Linked DNA regions of Homo sapiens: region 1 is linked to region 2. Evidence: promoter capture Hi-C in human tissues and cell types (Jung and others, 2019). All regions are on one chromosome and are shown on one strand. The core of a region is centred on a gene start or on the middle of the fragment in contact, and the rest is flanking DNA. Distances in the headings are between cores, read along the strand shown.

Region 1 (7,383 bases), core at 1,734-4,233, 190 kb after region 2:
TAATTGAAAACTCATTGGCTTCCCTAACTTTAGCTATTCAATGTGTTGAATGCACATCAAAGGTGTTTTTGTAAGGAGCTGTATGCCGTCATTTTTAATTAATTTTAAATTCAGTTTTACATTTGATCTAATAAAGTCAAATGAATCTTTATTGTTCAGATATCACTAACTGGTGAAATAGGTCAGGCTTTCCAAGAGGAGTTCTTTGAGCTTCTTTGCATGTATAAATATCTTCTGCCAGCCGACTCTAGGCTCTAAAGGATACCTGGCTGCAGGCTTGCAGGGATCTATGTAAGACACGGAGGCGTTAGGAACATGAGAGGCCGGACTGAAAAGACTGTGTCAGCATCCCATGCATTTCACACACAGGTCCTTCTGTGCACTGGGCACCATGCTGGGTGCAGAGTGTAAAGGAGACAGAGGGGTCACCTGTACTCTGCAGCTTAGTCCCACAGGAAAATAAACTTGGACACTTGAGATGGAAAAATAGGCATCTTTATTTTTCCTCTTCAACCTCCCTAACTGTGGGGAGATTTGCACCACGCCCCCAATTCTGCGGTGAATTCCAGACCTTTCTGGTCACCCAGCGGGGCTGCTGCCCATGCCCCCACAAGCCCAGTGGGACCCTCTCACTTTGGGCTTCCCATCATCTGCAAGGCATATGACGCCCTTCCAGAACTGGGAAGACTTTTCCTTTGTCCCCTCCATGGCTCTCAAGGATGCATGGAAAAGCTTCTATTCTACCCGACCTCCACTGTCTCCTTCCACCTCCCAAGCCCCAGTTTCTTATTTTTCTGATTATTCCCAGGGAAGAACAACTCAAGCTTGTCAAATAAACCCACTGGGGTGATTGACACTATCTTTCCTTCCAGATCCTTTCCTGTACACCAGCTGCTTGTGTATGTGACTCTCCTCCACTCTCACCTCACCAGCGTGGCATTGAACACATTATATAATATTAACACAATATTATAGTCAGTTGCAGCACTTAATATAAGTGATTTTTGATGTGTGCAAGGGTAAGGAAAACAAAATGGCCTTTAATCTCATTGCCCCAGTAACTCCTGTTGACTTTAAAAAATTGGATGTGCATGATCAGAAAGTACAGAGTCCAGAAAGTCAGAAAAGAACGCGTGACTTGTCTTAGCTCCTTAGCTGCCTCTCTCCAAGGGTGGCCACAGCAAAAGAGTTTTCTGCTATTCTTCCGTAAAAGAAAGTGTAGGCTCATATTTTATTTATACCAAAGAGCCCATTTATCCTCTGTTCTTGGGTTTTCCCTTTGACAACGTACCTAGGAGGTGTTTCACTATCAGTCCTTACAAAACTAATTACTCTTGTTAACTGCTGCATATTTTTCCATTGTTGAATGTGCCATACATCGTTTACCTCAGTCTCTGCTCAAAGACACTTACGTTTTTCTAGTTTTTTGCTGTGACATATGCCTATCTTGGCATGTTTTGGGGGATGGGTGTAAGTGGAGAGTAAATTTCTAATAATAGAATAAATGAGCCAAAAAGTTTTAAATTTTGATAGGTATTGATTGCCAAATTGACCTACAAAATAGTTTCACCAGTGGACACTCCCATCGACAGCATATGAGGATGCCCCTTTCCTGTGGGTAAACACTGGAAAATTATCAAGCTTTTCCATTTTCACCAACCTGATAGGGAAAAGAATGTAATTTCACTGTTGTTTTGATCTGCATTTCTTTAACTATCAGTGTGACCAAGTGTCTTTTCATATGTTTACTAGCTGTTCGTATTTGTTCTTCTGTAAATAGAATATTCATATTCTTTGTCTATTTTTTTCTACTGGATTGGAGATAAGTTTGGTACTTTTATGAAACCAAAAGAAGTTCATCATCGATTTTATTTCAGTTTATTTTGAGATTCTGAATCAAATGGGGAGGGATGAAGGTCTAAACGTCTTCATCCTCTCTTACTTAAACAGGGAAACCTCTGTAGCCTCTTGGACGGTCTGCCCATTCCCACCCCACAGAAAACAGGGCGATTAATTATTTAGGATCCCATCGGTTCAGAGGAGAAGCTGTACCAATCAGACAGTTCCCCAGCAGCTGCTAAAGTACCAGGCACTAAGACGCGGATCAGCTGTGGGACTCTGTGTCATCCATTTAGATGAGGGCTTCCTCGACTGCCTATTGTGAGCCTCCGGAGGTCACATCCTTGACATCATCTGCTGGACCATGAAGATCATCAGCATGCCAAGGAGTCTGACAGGCTGCGATTATTTTCCACTCCAGTGCAGTGTTTGTTTGTTTCCTGGCATGAAGGGGATTTGTTTTCCCGGCAAGCTCTTTGTGCAGCAGACACCTCATAAAAGGAAAATAGCCTCTTTGGGAACATTGATGAGTTTGCTCAGGCCTTACGGTGGTCAGGCCCTGAGTGTGAGTTTGAGTGAGTGCAGTTTATGTTTTTGGCCCCAGTGGATGGGCTGTTATTCCTTTGTCTGTTCATCCATTAATCCAACAAGCATTTGCTGAGAAGCAATTTGGTACAGAAGTTAAAAGTTGGGGCTTCACAGACAGAATAAGCCTTAGTTGTTGAGTTTACTTTCGTGTGACACTGGGTAAGTTGCATTCCTTCTTGGAGCCTTTGTCTTTTCTTCACCGTAAAATGGAGGTAACAATGTCTATCTCAGAATTCTAAAATCTGTTGATATAATATATGTATTAAGCAACTGTACTGTCACAATCATGCTGCATTAACAAGCCACTTGAAAATTCAGTAGCTTAAAACAATCATTGACTCTTACTCGTCTGTCTGGGAGTGAGCTGGGGTCAGCTGATCTAAACTGGGCTCTGGGGGGTTTAACTCCAATCAGCAGGTGGATCCGGGTCTGCTCCATGAGTCTCTCATCCTCCTTGGACCCACAGGAGAGCTGGGGCACATTCTTTTCATGGCAGCAGAAGGGAGAGGTCAAGCTCCCTAGTGGGTAGGGAAATGCACTCCACCTGTAGTAGGAAGTACTGAAAAGTCCAGGGCAAAGGGCACGAGGAGAAGGGTGAAGAATTAGGAGCAATGATTCAATCTTCCACTATAGATAGTTCACAGCACCCAGTAGTTGCCCTAGTTTTCTGGCCGACAAACTAGAGAGTAGAACTGCTTCAGCCAGGCGCAGTGGCTCACGCCTGTAATCCCAGCACTTTGGGAGGCCGAGGCGGGCGGATCACGAGGTCAGGAGTTCGAGGCCAGCCTGATCAACATAGTGAAACCCCATCTCTACTTAACAAAAAAAGAAAAATTAGCCGGGTGTGGTGGTGAGCGCCTGTAATCCCAGCTACTCGGAAGGCTGAAGCAGGAGAATGGCGTGAACGCGGGAGGCAGAGCTTGCAGTGAGCCAAGATCGCGCCACTGCACTCCAGCCTGGGCGACAGAGCAAGACTCAGTCTCAAAAAAGAAAAAGAGAGAACTTCTTCGCAGCATCCTTTTCCCCAGGGATGACTGTTAAACCGTGTGCTGCTTTCAATTCACAGATTCTGTTTATTTCATAATTCCTCAGCCTTCCAAAGATTGGCCACCTTCAGAAAGCAAAAGAAAACCAACACTCCGAGAGCTTTTACAATTTTTTCTTTGCCCTTTTTATTCCATAGTTTTGTTTCCTCTCCCTCATTTTCTCCTTTTGAAATTTCCATTAGTTGTATGTTAGATCTTCTGATTTGCCCTCTTTTGTTTTGACAGATCAGTCATATTTTCCATCTAGTTCCCTGTGCTGCATTATGGGAAATTTCCTCAAGTCTATTTTTTATTTTACTAAATATCTCTTTAGCTGTACTTAATCTGCTGTTTCATTCAGCTTCTGAATTTTAATTTTAGTGATAATGTTTTTTTTTCATTTTTTCGAGTTTTATTTGCTTATTTTTCAAGCTTATATTTTCTCATAATTTTATTATTTTAACATGATTTTTATTCCTTTATCTTTTTAGTAATTTAAATACATGTATAATCTATCAGAGTATTTTAGTATGTCAAGGGTGTCAAACCTTCTTGTTGCTCTGCTGGTAGAGTGTTTTCTTGGGTGATTTCTAATTTTTTTGTAATCTCATTTTCAGGTGATGTAGTTTGTGATATTGTTTTATTTTTCCAGTGGGATTTCCCTGCATTCAAGGTGATAAAAGTGACCCTACAGAGTCTAAAGAGCTATTTCGTGCCTGATTTGAGCAAGCAACTTAGAGGTCCTACTTGTCCTAGGACAGTTTTTACATTAATTTCTTGGTTTAGGATTTTAGCAACCCACGGGTGATATAAATTTGAACTTCATGCTTGCATGTGGTGCAGGTTTGAGTTTTTATACATCATAGGCTATTTATTTTTCTGTCCAAAGCCCTGAGCAGAATGAAGCTTCTTGGTTTCCTATGCAGCTGGATGGGCAAACATCTCATACATGGAGGGAGGAAACCCTTCCAAGGTCCAGACCTTATTCAGGGTGTCAGAGCTTAGTTTCAACTCTGCCTCACATGGCCCAGAGCTACATCTTTTTTCCCCCACGTGGATGTTAAAACTCTAGCCTCTAGCTATTAAGACGTGTGCCTGTGTCTCATATACTTCTGGCCTACTATGTCTTCAGCTCTTTCACTTAAAGCTTTGGTTAAATGTTTCTTAATTGCTTTTTTTCCCAATTCATTTTGAACCACATTTCTATATAGTTTTGGTGGGAAGAGAGATCCATAAAACCAGTCTACTATGTTGCCAGAAACAGAAGTTCAACACTTATAGCTTCTTGAAGCACCACTAGTGGATCCTTTCATTTTAAACCTCTTTCAAGGATACAGCCCAAAGAAATGCATGTTTGTGAAGTAATTGTATAGCCAGACACCTATTTGATTTAAAAAGCAATTGAAAGTTTAAGCTTCGCCTAGCAAGTTGTTGTCTAAATTTGCCTTCCGTGGACATCTGTGATCATCAGAATTTCAATTATTAATTTTTAACTAGAAGCATGGGATGATTATAAATGCCATTAAGACATTGAATTGTGTCTAATGTTGGGTTAATAGAAGGCAATATTTGCTAGGATCGCTCCTTTTTTTAAGGCCTGGAAACCAGGCATCCTCCATTAGAATAGCAAAAGTTACAGCAGAACTTTTGAAATATTTTCTTAAAAAGGTGCATAGAACAGTGGGGTTGGCCTTCAGTGATTGAGAATGTGTGGCTTTCTTCCCCATTTGGGACAAATGCCTTCAGTCTAATCATTCCCAGGTGCAGGATTCAAAGTCACTAGATGTGTGTTCAAATTCTAGCTCTGCCACTTCCTACCTATGCCTGACCTGAGCCTGGCATCCTGCTTTGCCTTATATGTGGATTATCTCATTTAGCCTCACAATTGAATTTCTAGGCACTCTGTTAAAAGAAAATTAGTGCCGGCCAGGCGTGGTGGCTCACGCCTGTAATCCCAGCACTTTGGGAGACTGAGGCAGGCAGATCACTTGAGACCAGAAGTTTGAGACCAGCCTGGCCAACATGGTGAAAACCTGTCTCTACTAAAAATACAAAAAATCAGCCGGGCATGGTGGTGCTCACCTGTAATCCCAGCTACTCAAGAGGCTGAGGCAGGAGAGTTGCTTGAACAGGGGAGACAGAGGTTGAAGTGAGCTGAGATCACGCCATTGCACTCCAGCCTGGGCAACAGAGCAAGACTCCATCTAAAAAAAGAAAAGAAAATTAGTGCAGGGCACAAATAGGCAGTGTGCTGGGAATCACTGATGCACAATAAAAGTTTACGTAATAAATGAGTAATGCCGCCACTACTGCTCATAGAAATTGCCTGTTCAGCTCCTATTTGGTGCCAGTTACTGGAATAGTCACCTGACATACATCTTCTGACTTAATCTTCAAAACTTCCTGAGATTGCTCCTATTTTAAATATGGGGAAACCAGCAGAGAGTTGTTAGATAAATCCCAAGGCCACATAGCTAGGGAGTGACAGATCTGGAATTCAAATCCAAGTGTCTGGTTTTAAATGACCAGCTTATTAACATTGTGTATAGAGAAAGTAAAGGAGTTGGTGTAGTATTTCTCACATAAATACTGCGTGTGAATATTGCGATACCTTTGGGTTGCTGAGAGGCTTTTTGGCATAATTCCTGTTTCTCAGAAAAGTTTCAGATGGCTGAGTTTGGTGGGTAAATGAATTTGAAATAGAACCCAGCACTGTCCCTGACACATAGCAGAGGCCTAATAAATATTTATGATTCAATCTATTCATTAATGATTTACTTGCTGGTGAGGGGTTATGCTGTCATACCTTTTAAAAGGTAGACTAGAAGCATGATGGAAAATGCATGGGCTAGATTTGGAATTACAGGGACCTATGTTCAAATCTCGGCTTTTGTGCTTACTAGCTCTGTGCCCATGGGTAGGTAGGTTAAATATTTCTGTGCCTCAGTTTCCTCACCTGCAGAATGGGAATGATGAATATCTCTATAGTTTATGTGAGGATTTAATAAGTTAACACATACAGTGCACTTAGAATAGTCCCTGTAGGTAGTAAGTACTAGATAAAAGCTATTATTTTTTATTGTAAGCACTCAAACAAATAAGAATTATTAGTAATTGTTACTGCATGCTACTAGGGTTGTGTCAATGATGCTAAATAAAAATTGAAGACCAAATTATTGCTGAAGATCAGGTGAAAACACCTGGATCCCACAGGTAGTGTCATCGGAAAGCTGAAATTCAGAAAATATTCTTCTTCCTCTCTTCCTCTTCCTCTTTCCTGGCCTTCTAGAAACCTGGTAACCAGTGTCTGCTGTCACTAATGTGGCCAGAGGAAGTAACACATTACAAGGAATGGGTGGGGGAGGGAAGCTTTGTCTTCCCTCAAATGGAGCAAAAACAGCCCATTATTCAAAGTCTCTGCTAGGGGAAAAAAAAGTCTCTGCAGAAAAAGTTGACCATATCGAGCAGAAGATGCTGTAGTTTCCATGGCAATTAATGGTGTTAAGTGCACTTCATAACTCAAAGGTCTCTTGTGAAGATGCAGGAGGAGAAGGCAGAAAGGTGTGTATGGTTTTTTAAAAATAGTATTTGAAGACTTTTTCCCCCTGAAAATCCTTTTACTGCCTTTATGGGACAGAGTTTTATTTTTGAATCCTTGGGAAGATGTGCAAAATGACTTTAGGGATGAAATTACCGACACAGTTGAGATGCCCAAAATAGACGTTCCCCAAAGTGTGGGGGACACTTATGAAAGATTCTCCATACATTTACTCTGTGTGGCCAGCAAAATGTTGCTTTCTGGCACTAATGGGAACTCTGTAATACTGTGGTCCCTAGCCAACAAGGAAGGGGTTCACTCACTCTAATGCCCAGAACTGTGTGAACCTTCAGGAAGGAGAGGTTTGCAGGACCTCTTTTCTAACTCCTGAAT
Region 2 (7,874 bases), core at 1-2,500:
CCACGTTTATAATCTGTGATGCCTTTATAATCAGCATATGGCAACTGGCTAGACAGTCTCCTCACCACACAGAAGAGTTTTCAAAATAGCCTACCCCTCCTTTCACATTTATGTGAAATTAGCATTGTCACATTTCCTCCTTCATTGACTACTTTAGATCAGAGAGACACACTGTAGCAGAAGATCATGAAGGAAGTTGTCTTAAAGAAGGAAACTAACATAAATTAAGCATCTCATATACACCCAGTGCTTTCTTTCCATTGTTCTCTCTTTTAATCCTCACCAAAACTGGTGAAGTCGGTATCATCCATTTTATAGATGAGAAAACTGAAGCCGGGTAAGGGGAAATGGCTCGCACTAAGTCCTTTAGCCAGCAGGCAGCAGGGCTGGAGTGGGAATTCCTCCAGTCTCTTCCCCAAAGCCCTTCCAAGTTGCCACTCAGTCAAACTACCGCTCTCATCACATAAAAATGCCCTTCTCTTGGAAATGTGCTTGCCATCACGATCCAAACATTCGAGGGACAGAAATCTCTTGGACCGCAATCACTGCTATTTTTTAAGTGATTGTTATCACGACTCAGTAGCTGTTACCATGGTTTTGGGGAAGTTGTCCGAGGAAGGAGGGCCTTTCTTTGGGCATCTTGCATGCCTGAAGAAGGAACTCAAGATCTCAGCTCTTAATTACTCTGATTGTGCTGCAGTAGCAACTTGAAAGAGACCGTCCCTAGAAAAGTGTTGGGGTGGGGGGTGTGGAGTAACATCCAGCGAGCAGGCAGAAGGGAGGCCCTGGGCGCCAGAGAGACCCAGGGAAAGGCGAAGAGGAGGGAGAGGGGACGAGACCGTGCTACGGGGAGCCTGGAGAGAAAGCCAAAGGAGGAGGAAAGAACAAAAGGCAAGAGGAGAGGAAGTACAAGAAAGTCCAGAAAGGAAAAGAGAAAGTTTCAGAAAGGGGAAGAGAAAGCAAGCAAGGAGGGTAAAAGAAGAAAGAGACCAGAAAGATACCGAACTGAGAGAGCTCGGAGAACTCGAGAAAGCAAAGGAGGTAAAAGGAGAGAAGATGGAGAAGGCGGCGGAGAGGAAGGGGGAAGGAGACAGAGGAACCGAGACTGGGGTGAGGGAGCGGCCGCGCGTGGCCCCCGGAGAGGCGCCCATCACCTGCGTGGCGCCCCCCCGCGCCGGAGTGCGGCCCTGCTCCCAGCGCCAGTGCGCCGCGCGGCTCGCCGGCCTCGTAGGATTGGCTACCGCCTCCCATTCATGTAACCTGCGTGTGCGTGTGCGTGTGTGTGTGTGTCTCTCTCTCGCTCGCCCTCTCTTTCTGTGTGTAAGAGAGCGAGGGTGGGGGACGGAGGCAGGCAGGCGAGCAGGCAGGGAGGGGAAGAAGAGAAGGGAAGCTATTAAACACACACACACACACACACACTCACACACGCGCGCGCACACACCCGCCCCAACCCCCCAGAAGCCTCGGGATTGCAGCTGTTTCATGTGGGGCAGCAGTGCTGGCAGGGACGCCGGCCGGGAGCGGCCGGGAGCGGGAGCCGGTCGTGCGCGCGCGGCTGGAGGCTCGCTGGGGCTCCGCTCCCCGCGGGAGCTATTGTTGGTCTCGCTGGAGCTGAGCGCAGAGCCCGGACCTGCTCCTTCCTGGGCGCCCCGCTACGGCTCGCGGAGCAGAGGAGCCGCGCCGCCGAGAGAGAGAGGAGCCACCGGCGCGGCGCCTTGCCTCCCTGCCGCCGTCCTCGCCGCTTCCCCGGCGGTAGCAGCCTGCAGCCACGGTAAGGCGGCGTGATCCGCTCTACGGAAAAGCGCCTTGGGGACCGCGGCGACGCCTCGCCAGCTCCATCGCCCTCTGCACTGCTGGCCCGGGCAGGGTTCGGGTAGCTCACGCGGCTGCCGAGGGCTCCGGGAGATGTTTGCTTGCTCCCCTGGCCCAGGAGGAGGGAGGCTAGGGCGCGGGTGGCCGAAGAGGCAAGCTGTTCTGGAGCCTGGAGCCGCCGCAGCCCCCGGAGCCCGCCGCGGACTGGAGCCTGGGAGCAAGGGTTGGGGGAGGGCAGGGAGGTGGGAAGCGGGTGGGAGGGAGGCGGCGCGCCCCAGGTTCGTCTGCCTCTCCCGGATCCCGTTCCCCGCCCCGGCCCGGTCGCCTGCAGCCCCTCTGCAGACTAGCTCGCCCCAGGCCCCCGTCGGGCGCTGGAGGAGCCCGCGAGGCGGCGCCGGGCTTCAGCGGCTGCAGCCTGCCCTGCGGGGCAAGTGCCGGCTGCAGCAGCCCCGCACGGGCGGTGGTTGGAGCTCAGATCCTGGAGATGCGACCCCAGCTCCTCGCCCTCTGCAACCCGCGGGGCGCCCGCCTCTCCTCACCGGGCGCCCGGCCGCGGTATTGATGTTCGTCTAGGAGCCAACTGAGGCTGCAGCCGCCAGATGGACGCTTGGAGGGCTCCCGGGTGTGAGTGTGACTGTATGACTACTCTCACCCCCAGCTTCGGGAAATGTGCTCTGGGTTGAAATGTGATCACCGAGCTCCTCAGTCATTTTAATTGCCATTTTTAAATGCGGTCGTTACATTGGAGGAGCAGACTGGAAGGTAGTGGGGCGGCGTGTGTGTGTGTGTGTGTGTGTGTGTGTGGACACACACACGCAACCGAGGAATACACAACCAACTACTTGGGTGAAGGGCGGGGGGTTCACCTAGTGAGTCCTTCTTGGCGGGGGGGTCGGGCGAGTTAGCTGCCCGCTGCCCGCCCCTTCTCTGCCTGCCCCCGCCTAGGCGAGGTTGGAAAGTACTGGAAATTCAGCTGCGTGGTCCTTAACTTTGGAAATTGGCTCCGCTTTCAGGGCAAAATGTTAAGGCGATTTATGCACCCGCGTCCATGTGGATGAGTGTATTACTGCTCAGTTGGGTGCAGAGCCCTCAACAGTACCGCGCCAAGCCCCCACCCGATCTCTAACTCCCTCCCACCCCCTAACCGTGGAGAGAGGGTTTATAGAAATGCAGTTATCTGTAAACCATCGACGCAGTGAAAGGGGCGCAGGGAGGCAGCCAGAGTTTTGCCTGAACCTGCATACTGGCTTGGTGTTTGTAGCACACGAGATCACCCCGCTGCTTTGTAGAAGGCGGTGGTGGGGCAAGCTCGGGATTCCAATCGCCGGGGTGGGGGGTGGGGGGAAGAGGGTGCCCATGTACTGAGCTCTGAGGCCGAGTAAGGAGAGAGATCTGCTGAGCGGCATCGCGGGCAATTACATAAGCTGCCTCGGTGATTACCCGGAACTGTGATGCGAGCTCCCGGTTCTCGAAAGACAAGCCTGAAAGTTTGCCTGCTTGGGGAGTGTAAGTACCGGGGCGCCCCCACCCCGGCCTGGGTAGCTAGGATACGCCTCGCACCACGGCGCCCACTTGTGCGATGGGCGTCGGGTGCTGATGCTGCTGTCCCCAAAGAACCGGTTACCGAGGCAGGGACTAAGTGGGGGCATCCGGAATTGATCGCAGAGGAGGAGTCAGTCAGAACTGAGGTTTCATTGGGTCTTCAGAGCTCCAAGTCTTCCCTCGGAGGTGTTGGAAGGCCTTCCAGGGAACGCCGTTTTCAGAAACTGACTTGGTGTCCTGGGGAGCCCCAAAGCCCCTCTTTTCCGCCCTTCCTGGGCGCCCCTCCTTGTCTTTCAAGCCCTGTGCCCTTCACGTGTTTAGAAACCTGCCCGCGGTGCCTGGTCCCCCTTGGAGATGCCCAGGCAGCCCAGCCATCCAGGCCCACGCTGGCGAGGGGTTAGAGGGAGTAGAACGCTGGCTCTGCCGGGCTGCCACCCTTACCTACACCTATTCCTGGTTTCCTGCGCTAGCCCGGCGCTGATGGGGACGGGATGGGGCTGGGGTCGGGTATGGCTTCCGTTCCTTCGCCTCTCGCCTCTGCAGACAGCAGTTTGCTTCTGTTGCGTTTATTCTCCCCGTTTCGCCGCTTCCCTCCAGCGCCGCAGCCTGTGTATCACGTTGATGGGCTTTGATAGAGAAACCACAGTAAGAGTATGCTTTTAAATCTTGATTTTCGTCTGTAGGGGGATAAGCCACCCCAGCCCTGACACAGCCGTGGGGAACGCTGAAGTCTGGGACACATTGGCCCTGAACTCCCTTCCCCCCAGCCCGCAGTCAGGAGATGGTGATGTGCATGGGTGGGGAGTGTTTTGTTTTTGCCACATTCCAGCGTCCTGAAACCTCTCGTCCCCTCCCACTGAAATCCCCGATCTGTCTGAATCTGTTCCTTGCTGTAAAATAAATCCTCCCTCCCGCAGACCTGTGGGGCCCTTCGGATTTCCTGCCGCTGCCATGATCCTTAACAATGCGATTGAAAAGCCAGTGCTCGGCTGGAAAAAAATCCCCAGGTGCCAGCCGGCCGCGCCTTGACCTTGCTGAAGGAGCCTTTAACCCGGCTGCCAGAGGGGCTCTGGTCCAGCCGTGGGAATCCAGGAAGAAGGAGGGCGCCCCGGAGGCGGCTGGGTTAGCTCCCCGGGCAGGGCGGGAATCAGGTCGCGGCGGGGACCGCAGAGGGGGAGGGGACGGGACTCCGCGGCAACCTGTTTCCCGGCGAGCCGGGCCCGCGCATCCCAGCTCCCTCGCCCCAGCCCCTCGTGGCCCGCCTCCCCCGCCGGCCTCCAGTTGTCTTCGTGGTACAGGAGTCGGCCGCGACTCCCTCGCGCTCTCCGCCGGAGTCCGCGGGACGCCGCCAACTTTGGGCTCCTCGGTGGCCGGAGCAGCGGTGCGAACCAGCGGGGCGGCCGGGTGGGCGGGGCCTGGGCGGGAAACTGGAGCCGAGAAGACCGCGTTCCAGGCCAAGTTCCAGCCGCAAGCGCCGCGCGGCACAGTGCAGGGTCCCGGCCGCGCCTTTCTCCCGTCCCCGGCCCGGCCGCGTTCCTGCGGACTCACAGCGCGCTCCGGGCGCTCTGCAGTTGGGCTTTCAGCGGGGGAGCCCTTCTCGTCAAAGTTACGAGGGGTGTTTTCACTGGTGGTGACAGTGGGAACTAGTTTTCTGCGCGCCTGTGTGTGTGTGTGTGCATGTGTTGGGGAGCAGAGAGATTTGCAGCGAAGTCACACATAGCACAAAAAACAGGTTTCCCCTTTCCAGGTGTTATAAGGGAATGCTGAGGAGGAATCCGTTTTCTCCGGTGAGGGTGTTGACGGGAAGCCCTTCCACTTAGTGGAACTGGACCTGTTGGAGCTGATTGCCTGGAGTGAACGGGTGTCTCCTTTAGCGGCACCTGTGTGCCGTAGGTCCTTGGAAATGTTTGGGGAACTGAAAGTCCTCAAGATATTCAGCCAGGACTTAGGGCATAGATGTTTGTGTGCTTTTAGGGGGCTAATTCGGGGAAGCTTTTATTTCCAGCATGTGTCTTGAACTGAGGGGAGGGCAGGGTGCGGAAGGCTTGTGGAATTGCCATCTTCTGTGGTGGGGGAAGGGATCAGGGACGGAGAGCTTTGGTTTTCTAGAAAGAGTTCTTGGGTTCTTCCTCTGCTCTCATCTTGTTTTCATCAAGGCCTCTGTTTGGGGGTGGAGGTAGAGTGGTGCGGTAAGCGGATCAGCCACCCTAATAGACCGGCCTTGACCAGTGCGGATGCCAACGGGCAGAACTAGTGCTTGGTCTGAACAAGAACCATCAAAGGATAGTTCTATAGTGAGTGGAGTGACCTGGAATATGAGGTAGAAGGCTAGGTGTTAGAGTAATGGGTTCCCACGGACTCTCTTCCAATAGAATCTGATTCTATTTGGTATAGTCTCCTCAATCTTTTGTGGTTTTGTGGGAGTAAGGTGATAGGATGTGACTTTAATCTCTTAACTATTGGGTTGGAATCATGGCTCTGTGGCCTTAGGCAAATTGTCTTTGGAGCTTCAGTCCTCTCCCCTGTAAAATGGCACAATATTACTTAGTTTGCAACACTGTCAGGGTTTTTTTTTATGATCCAGTCTATAAACTTTATTCAGATTTTTCCAATTGTCCCAATAACGTCCGTTATAGCAATAGAAAATCCTGGCTTATGAGTTCATTCAGCTTTTCATGTCTCTTTAAACTCTTTTAACCTAGAACATTTCCTCATCTTTTTAAATCTTTCATATTATTGAACACTGTCAGTTTTAACATCGATAAGGCCTCTGGCATACTGTGGTCCCTTCACAGATGCTTGTTCCTTTCTACCTCCTTATCCCCTTCCAGGAAGCATCCTGCATTTGTTGGGTGGAGATTGGGCAGAGAAATCAACAGCCCCGAAAGAACCACCAACCTTGCATCCAGCCTATTTAAAACCAGCTTCAAATGCGTGAAATGAAAATTTCTTTTCTTTTCTTAGGAAAGTCATTTCCAGTTTTGTTAGAATTTGTGCTTCATTGAGTCCCTTTTTCTGACAGAGTTGCATCCTCATGCAGATTGACATGTTACATAACCCGATATTTCCAAATCAAAAGTTACAAATAAGGGAAAAGAAGGTGATTAGGAATTAAAGATTGTTGGGCAACACAAGCAAAAGACTCAATTTAAGATGCCAGCTCACACTCTAATTGTGCTAGAGGTTGAAGGAAAATGAGACTTGATAAGCACCAGTGGTGCAAGTCTCCGCCCGGGGTTCTCAGCCCCTGTCCTGGTCTAACAAACAGCTACACAGCCCCAGCCCAAACCTTTTGTAGTTCCTGTCCCAGTAACTTCTCCCACATCCATTAATCTAAAAAGTTAAACAAAAGAAGAATAGGATTTAAATCACCTCCTTGCAGATTTGATTCCAAGAGCCTAGCAGGGTAAATCAATGTCAATTCTAGATCTAAGGGGCCGATTTCTACCTGCCTTCTTACATGGTCTATCAGCTTGGCTTTTATTGTAACTGAAAGCTGAATCACTCCATCTTTGCTTTGCACTGGCAGATGGGCTGTGGGGGCCACTTTGAAAGTAATATGCCCCAGTTCTCAGGGAGCCAAGCAAACATGGATCCCTGAATGTTCTCTGTATGGAAAATGTCTAATGAAGCCATGTAGATATATGTGCCTATTGCTTCCGGGGTTATATATTTATTACTTTTTTTTTCTTTTACAGTCTTTATTCTAATGACCAAAGTAATATGTGCTCACTGTAGCAAATTCAGGCATTACAGAGAAAAGCAAAGCCAAAATGTTCCACCACATTTTGGGTTGTACCTTGTGACTTTATGAATGTAGAAAAAATGATGAGATCCTAGTATAGTGTTTTGAATGCTTATTTTCATCTAATGATAAAGCATGCAAAACTTTTCATGCTCTCTTTTCCTCCTACGGTGACATTTGTAATGCTACATAGACCCCCAATGTTATAGTATGACAGATATAATTTAATGAGTACCTAATTTTTTGACTTTGTGTTTATTTTTTTTTATTATCATAACAAGACTGTAGTAACCATCCTTGTACATACTGTGTAGTTTTAGTATTTCCTTAAGATGAATTCCTAGAAAGTAGCATTTCAGGGTTAAAGGCAGATACCATACTAAAGCTTCTGTCACACATGAAAAGCAGTTAGGTAAACCATGATGTCTCTTTCATCTTTTTAACCAGAATATGGCTATTTATTTTGCAGTCCCTTACAGGCTTGGAAGCCCAGGTGGTAGAAGAAGGCAGGGGTGACAGTCAAACTTCAAGCAGGGAATTTGCATAATTTTGAGCTGTTCTGCTGAACTGATACACAAATTCTTTTTCCAAGAACATTTTTCTTCCCTGGCTCTTGGAATCATCACTTTCTGGAGTGCTTCAGCCAGCAATGGAGTTGAAATATGTAAATATGTTCCTCAGCGTTGTAGGTGGGGCTGGCTCCATGGTGAATGACAAATAGTTCCTCCGAGAAGAGTGTGTGTCTTCAGCATTTGCTGAGGCTGTGGATTTCCCC

Evidence for each region. Contacts are between HindIII fragments. The study calls those that stand out against the background at their distance.
Region 1: a fragment that was not itself captured here is called in contact with the fragment with the promoter of TENM4 in region 2 in 1 of the 25 tissues and cell types used here (dorsolateral prefrontal cortex).

What each region holds. Positions count from the first base shown.
Region 1 is chr11:79,248,280-79,255,662 of GRCh38, reverse strand. The region is part of intron 2 of TENM4 (teneurin transmembrane protein 4); the gene reads left to right. Among named protein-coding and RNA genes, the nearest start is that of MIR708, 150 kb to the left of the region's middle. The HindIII fragment of the contact is 3,500 bases long and covers 1,234-4,733 here.
Region 2 is chr11:79,434,406-79,442,279 of GRCh38, reverse strand. TENM4 (teneurin transmembrane protein 4) reads left to right here and starts at 1,250. Exons shown (of 34, transcript NM_001098816.3): 1 at 1,250-1,771. RefSeq lists silencers at 1,122-1,291, 1,552-1,661. The HindIII fragment of the contact is 13,466 bases long and covers 1-6,415 here.